2 separate regions of the Homo sapiens genome follow, and region 1 is linked to region 2. The links are contacts of gene promoters, found by promoter capture Hi-C in human tissues and cell types (Jung and others, 2019). All regions are on one chromosome and are shown on one strand. Each heading gives the region's core, a stretch centred on a gene start or on the middle of the fragment in contact. The rest is flanking DNA. Distances are from core to core; before and after follow the strand shown.

Region 1 (3,730 bases), core at 933-3,432, 1.1 Mb before region 2:
GAAGGTACAGAGTTTCAAGTAGTTCTAAAATGCACAAATGAGTTACCCATGGAACATTTTCTAACTCCTACCTCAAAAACCAGATTATTCCAAAGTATTCGTTATACCTTTGCAGTATGTTTGAAATATTTCATAATAAATGTAACTGCATGAGGTTAAAGGATTTCATACCATTTGATGTTTTAAAACAGGCATTTCAAAAGGAGGTCCTTTTGCTTACAGCTCCAAACTCACTGGACATTTACAGCTTAGAGTATGGTTAAAGTATGGAGACTAAAATGCTTGTTCCTATTAATATATACTTACTTAGGAAAACCAGTCAACTTTTCCTTTAGATATGTAGATGTGATTTGACTACAATGAAGAAAAGTATTTCAAGAAATACTAAATTTGTTCTTTGAATAAGGGAGTGCTAAACAGCTATTACTTTTCTACAGAATCAAAATTTAGTAAAATTAATTTTTCTCATTGCATTATAATTGGGCTAAAAATTAATCAACAAAATATGGCTCATTTAAAATTTGCCTGGGTTTTTCTTTCTTTATATAGAAGTAGGGGAATATTTAAATGTTTATTTGAATATGTGTATGTTCAGCAAATGCTAAAAATTTTATCTTTCTGAGTGACATGAACAAATGACTGCCTGTTGGAAGATGCACTAAACAAAAGCGAGCCTATAGTCTGGTGTTTGCAACTGTCTGAACCATTCAGGAAGAAATCTGGCTGAAACTTCTAGTGAGTTTAATTCATGTCTACCCAGAAAGGCAGCTGCTTGGAGATAAGGCTTTAATGTTTCTCTTGTCCAAGTTTGAATTCACTTTTATCAAAACTAAAAAAATTCTATGGTAGCACACAGTTGTTTTAATATTTTTAAAATTAACCTAGGCTTTTTTTCTCAAATGAAAAATTTTAGCCCATTCATAATGTTCTCTTTTGAAAATAAAATTTCATTCTTCTAGGAAAACAAATTGGAAATAGGAGGTTTTAAAAAGGTCATGCTATACAAACTAGTCATTTCATGTACACAAAGAGTCTAAGGTAATAATTTGAAAATGTTGTTAAAGATTTATGTGAGAAATATGCTTTGTATGTTCATAGGGTGCAATATTTTGCAGACTCTAAAGTCATGCTTTAGTGAATATCTAAAGACCAGGAAAACGTTCATGGTATATGTTGCAGAAAAGCATTGAATAATTAACCATAAAGTGTGGTCCGAATTTTGGAAAATAAAAATCCACATGTGGACATCTGAAACAAAATACATCAAAATAATGGGTTGTATTATTTCTGCTACCAAACTTTCTATACTTTTCAGATTTTCCATGAGGATGTATTTTCATTTAGGTCAAGAAAAATGTACTTTTACTCACTGATGACTATATACCTCCTCTCTTAGAATTGCTCACACAAACCACAACCAAACTGAATAAACTTTGGTCTCAAACGTACTTTTTCTATTCTATATTATTTACCTTCAGCATATATCACAAGGCAGGAAAAATAAATTGTTGCCTACTTCCCCTTCAAAAGTGTTTATGTCTTAACTCTTAGATTGATTCCAGGTCACTTGGGAATGATTTCAACATAGTGTGTACGTGTGTGTGTGTGTGTGTGTGTGTTTGTATGTATGTATGTACATACGTACATACATGTGTTTAAGGGCTGGTAATGTCTCCCTTTAGAATAATTTATTGTTTTTAAAACTCTCTCAAATACATATGTACACACACACACACACACACACTTATTTTGCCTAAGTTACACTTCTTTTTCATCTATATAAGAATATAGATACTTGTGCTTCTAAGCAAAGAGCATTACCTATTACATAAGGTTCTCAGATAACTGACATGGCAGGCTCACTCATTAAGGGAAATTCCTCCCTTCCATTATACATGGTAGTGGCAAAAGCTTAGCCAGCAGATGGTTATGGTTCTCTTGATCATAAAGAAATGTTCCCTAGTTTCAATGAGGTAGACTGGTCTATAAGGAAAATAGACCAGAAGATCCATGTTTTGATACTAGAAATAATGCATGTAACATTCAAAGAAGGATCTTGAGGGCAGGAACCAAGACATCTAAAAATTTAAAAGAGAACCCACAGGGTTCGGCCTATAGTAGAAACTGAAGAAATATTTAAAGAATGAATTACATTTTTATTAAGCAATTCTATTTTTCCATTGTCTTGAAGTACAAAGTGTTGGTGTGGCAAAAGCCTTTGATATCAAAAAAATTGTGGAAATGATTATGCTCCCCTGATATTCTATAAATAGTTCACTCCTTTTTCATGGATATTTACAATATTAATTGGCAGAAGTAGGAATTATCTTGTGGGTACATGCTACTGTATGGCATTTTTGACCCAGCAACCATGTCCTAGTCATGCTGTGTTCCTGGGCTCCTAATTCAGTGGTGTTTACCTCATGAACCAAAGAATGCCCCAAATGAATAGTATACCTTAGAAATCCTTTCAGCACAAGGCTTACAGTGTCTCATTCTTTCAAATATGATCTTATAATTTGCAAAGTTCATTTATAAGAAATTTATATATTAAAATATTCCTAAGAACAATTATACTAGGTAATTTCACAGTAGGTATTCAGGGTCTTAGAATAAAGTGGGACCTTGAAAATAAGTAACTTAAATTTTAGCTGAGTATTCTCAAGCTACTTTTATCAACTGTTTAGAATGAGAGGTATATGTGGCAGAATATTAACTAGAGCCAAGCTATGACAATTTGGCAGAGACTCTACCTCAGACTGTACGTCTAAACAAGTATTTAAGTAGTAACCTTGAATACTGTTTCCAAAAGCTTAACAAGGTGGTTTTATTTCCTTCAATGAGAATGTTTTCCATCAATAAAAAAGTTAACCCACATCTTGTACATAGAATACATTCACTTTGAACTCCATCAGTGGATAGGACAAAGCAATGTCCTTTAATAAATCCAACTACTTCCAAGTATAAAATAAATACAAATTTGTAAAAATTTTTAAAATAGAGATTATACATATAAGGAGATAGAAGAAGTAACATCCTGTGAATATATGCAGTACTTTAACCAAATACTGGTCATCAGATATATGATGCTCATATGGAGAGCTGAGAGGCTTAAAGAAGAGACAACAATAATTTATGATTAAAAATTAAGGTTGGCTGGGTGCGGTGGCTCATGCCTGTATCCCAGCACTTTAGGAGGCTGAGGCCAGCATATCACGAGATCAGGAGTTCGAGACCAGTTTGGCCAACATAGTGAAACCCGGTATCTACTAAAAATACAAAAAATCAGCCGGGTGTGGTGGTGTGCGCCTGTAATCCCAGCTACTCAGGAGGCTGAGGCAGGAGAATCACTTGAACCTGGGAGGCAGAGGTTGCAGTGAGGCGAGATCACACCACTGCACTCCAGCCTGGGCAACAGTGCCAGACTCCGTCTCAAAAAAAAAAAAAAAAAAATTAAGGTTGACAGGTTTGCCAGCCTGCTTCTGAGCTTTCTATCTCCAATAGCTGGTAAGTGGTAACATAGTTATTATTCTTTGTAGACTTGCTCGATCAGAATTACATTTTTGTAGCTCAGAAGATTCACAGTTCCTGTTTCGTATCAAATAGAAAATTCTGGGTCGTACTAAATATTTATAAACTTTCATACTACATAATCGATGTTTTTTAGGGTACAGGATGCCAAAACCATTTAACCTCAAAATCCTCTTGTCTATACATATGTACTTAACAA
Region 2 (3,724 bases), core at 553-3,052:
CCCAATTCTCTGAATCCCTGGGGTGGAGCTGGGATCCCCTACACGGATTGGCTCCTACACCTGACTGTTCCACGCTGAATCCCAAACCGCACACCCTCCGACCTCCCCTGTCGCGCTAATTCCACAAACCCCGGGGGCTGGGGGACCCCTGAAGAATTCCGCTGACCCTTCGGGAGATTAGCTTTAGCCTCAAGTTTCTTGCTGAGAATGGGTGGGCGGAGAGGAGGGGCCGGCTGAGGGGCTGGAAAACATCCCTAAACGTTAGCCTGGGCCCTGAAATAGTGCGGGAAACCAGAGCTCCTCTAAAGACAGAGGCAGGATAAAATTAGAAGACGTGGAAATCCCTAACGGAGGGAAGCTGGGCGGCAAGAGGGATCACGGTTATAACGGGCCAGTGGACTCCTGCAGCGCTTAGTCGGATCGGGTGTAAGGGGCCCTAGACGTCTATTTCAAGACTGTGATGGTTACCTCCACAACTCTCTTTAGGGCTCCTTAGGACTGAGGAATACTTTTTTAAAGCCAATTTTCCCGCCTTGTATGGTGTGCCTGAGCTCTGTGACCGCGCATGCAGAAATAGGGGTGTGTGTGTGTGTGTGTGTGTGTGTGTGTGTGTGCGCGCGCGCGCGCGCGCTTCCCATGAAAGCTTCCCCTAGAAGGTTGCCTGGCTTGGCTTGCCGTTACGCGCGCTCCCGGAACAAAGCCGCAGTGGGAGGTCCCGGCCCCGCTTGCCTCCTTACCTGCCGGCAGCCAGCTCCGGGCAGCCCAGCCCTGCACCGCGTGCAGGTCGGCTCGCGTCTGCCGCAGCTCCTCTAGCACCGCGGCCAGGGCGCGCCCCGCCTCCTCTGGGCGCTGCGCCTCCGCGCCCTCCATACGCGCCAGCCTGCGGCCCGCGTCGCGGGTCGCCTGCAGCAGCTCGTCCAGAGCACTGGTCAGCCTGGCCTCTGCGGGAGCCCCCGGCGCGCACGGCCTCGCCAGGCTTTCCGCGAGCCGGCCCAGCTCCTCCCGCAGCCTCTGCAGCTCGCCCCGCAGGACGTCGTCCGTGGCTTGCAGCAGCATGCGCTCTCTCATCTGCGAGTTCTCCAGCATGATGAAGAGCTTGTCCCATTCCGAGTGCTCCTGACCGCAGGCGCACGGCGTGGCTAGAGTACGGGATACACACACGTTAGCAGCCCGCCCAGGCCTGCCTTGGATGTGCTTTGTAAAAGCTGACCTCCCTCGGTGGTGCCAAGTTGCAGCCCGTTCCTGGCATTCCCCTTCCCTTTAAGGACACCTCCGAAAAACAGCATGTAAATGTCTCAGAAACGACAGAAATCATTCATTCAGGTATAGATTAAGTTGTACCCTATGAAATCGCCGGTTATGTAGCTCAAAACAGTCAAATATTGACGATTTGATATGATTCAACCCATTATGTACGTTACAGAAATAACTTTGAAACCTCCATCTTTCTTCAAGTGCTTCTCACTTTTGCATAACAAGCTATAAATTTTTAACTTGTCTCACTGGCCACAAAGTATATGTGTGTTATTTAGACCAAGAGGTGGATATGTAGTCAGGGTTAGCAGAGAAACAGTTAAAGTGAACTTACGGTCCTCAGTGGGATGGAGTCCATTGTCTATTTCGTTGTCCAAATTCACATACATGAGATCATAATCATCCGAGTTCTCGGCCAACACTGCAGACCAGAGAGCACAAAACAGAATCGCAAGGAGATGCATTGCTGGAGAGACGCAAAGTTCTTTCCACAGCTGGCGGGAGGAGACTCTCAAGTGAGCTGAGTTTGAGCGGAGGAGAGTGAGAGTGAGAGGCTGGAGCAGAGAGTCCTTAATAAATGCTGAGGAAAGCCTGAATGGGGATGAATGAGTAATGCTGGTGGCACTGCGGTAACGGGAGTTCCCCTGAATTTGGTGGGGGAGGGGGCTGGGTGGGAGAGCGAGGGAAATGTGGAAGTTGCACAATATTAAACCGCAAAGGTTTACGCTGCAGTCAGATTAATTGGAGGAGGGTCAGAGGGGAAAGAGGAGAGAAACTGGGCTTCTACTGTTCTCCTGAGAATTAGCTGTTGTAATTTGAATTGATAGCAATGGGGATGAAGGAGGGGTGGTAGGGGAGAAATTTCAGAGGGTACTGAAGCAAATCATCATTTCAGCATTTTCTGTGAGCTGTTATTATTTCACAACCCTTTATATATAGAAAACTTTCCATGTTTCCTTTGTACACTGTTTTACAGGTTGAAACTGAAAATGGTCTGATTCCAAGATAAACCAACATATTAAGAATAGTTATGGCTCTGAAAGTCAAGTCCAATCCGAGCTATCTTGTCTTTAATACTTGAGGAGTTGCACCTATACTTTTATAGATAATTTTTTTTTTTGAGACTGAATTTCGCTCTTGTTGCCCAGGCTGGAGTGCAATGGTGTGATCTCGGCTCACTGCAACCTCCGCATCCTGGGTTCAAGCGATTCTCCTACCTCAGCTTCCCAAGTAGCTGGAATTACAGGCACCCGCCACCACACCCAGTTAATTTTTGTATTTTTAGTAGAGACAGGGTTTCACCATGTTAGCCAGGCTGGTCTCGAACTCCTGACCTCAGGCGATCCACCCGCCTTCGCCTCCCAAATTGCTAGGATTACAGACGTGAGCCACCTCACCCGGCCTATGACAAACAACACAGTACAACTGGGTAAACCTAGAATGGGGAAAAAAAGCTGGGGGAAAAAAGGAATATACTTATTTAGTTATTTAGGTATGTTTCTTTTCATAACTTGGTATTATGTGGACATTATATTATTCTACAAGGTTTCGAGGCAAGGATCATGTTTTAAAAGTAAACTTAGAGATTTCTGCTTCTAACAATATATACAGGTCTGTGTTCACATGATATTAATAAAAACTTAAAAGGTACAGATGAGCTCCCATTAAAGTAAGGGGAAAATCCCGGAGCCAAAGATAGAGAGGAAAGCAAAAACAACAATCCCATGAGCTGATGCTAGGGCCCCTCTGGCATAGGAGTGAAGTGAGATAGGGGTTATTAGTTCTATAACCACCAAATGTTGATGACCATGTGGAAGCAAAGCTTAGGCCAAAGGTGGAGAGTTAGAAGGGAGATCCTCATGAAAGCCAGGACCCTCACAGGGTTACCTACTGTATTTCAGTAGGTACAATCCCACTCTGCCCTAGCACAAAGAGGTAGGAAGCAATCATGTCTCTCTTTGAACTCTACAAGGTCCCTTTGAGTTTGTGAAATTGGGCCTGCCCTCAGATATGTTTAGAATTCAAATATATACTATCTGCCACTGTGAAAACAAAAAAGAATTCACAATGATATTTGAACATATGAGGAAGCAAACCACTATAAATGAGAATCAGCAGAAACCAAAAAGGATTAGACACCTCTCCCCAAGAACTGCATTTAGTTGAAATATCAGCCAAAAAACTAGAAAATAAATATGTTTAAAACTACTGAAGCTCTAAAAGAAGGAATTGGAAATATGAGAAAAGAATAAGACATTGTCAAAAAGAAAAAGGCTAGGTGATTTTTTTTAAAGAACCAAATAAAACTTCTAGAATTAAAAAAAAAAGTTAATTGAAAATTTTAAAAGCTCAAGGCATGGATTAAGTGGCAAATTAGGCAAAGCTGAAAAGAATATTAATGAACTGGAAGACAGATATAAGGAAATAATCTAAAATGTGCTGCTTTTATGTTCAGTAATAGGATTCTAAA

Evidence for each region. The method cuts DNA at HindIII sites, captures the fragments that hold promoters and counts their contacts. A contact is called where the count stands out against the background at its distance.
Region 1: a contact is called between a fragment that was not itself captured here and the fragment with the promoter of PTX3 in region 2, in 1 of the 25 tissues and cell types used here (dorsolateral prefrontal cortex).

What each region holds. Positions count from the first base shown.
Region 1 is chr3:158,576,395-158,580,124 of GRCh38, reverse strand. All of the region lies in intron 1 of MLF1 (myeloid leukemia factor 1), which reads right to left. Among named protein-coding and RNA genes, the nearest start is that of MLF1, 7.1 kb to the right of the region's middle. The HindIII fragment of the contact is 3,302 bases long and covers 532-3,730 here.
Region 2 is chr3:157,434,928-157,438,651 of GRCh38, reverse strand. PTX3 (pentraxin 3) reads right to left here and starts at 1,802. Exons shown (of 3, transcript NM_002852.4): 1 at 1,589-1,802; 2 at 738-1,139. The coding sequence starts at 1,718. All of the region lies in intron 4 of VEPH1 (ventricular zone expressed PH domain containing 1), which reads left to right. The HindIII fragment of the contact is 4,814 bases long and covers 1-3,724 here.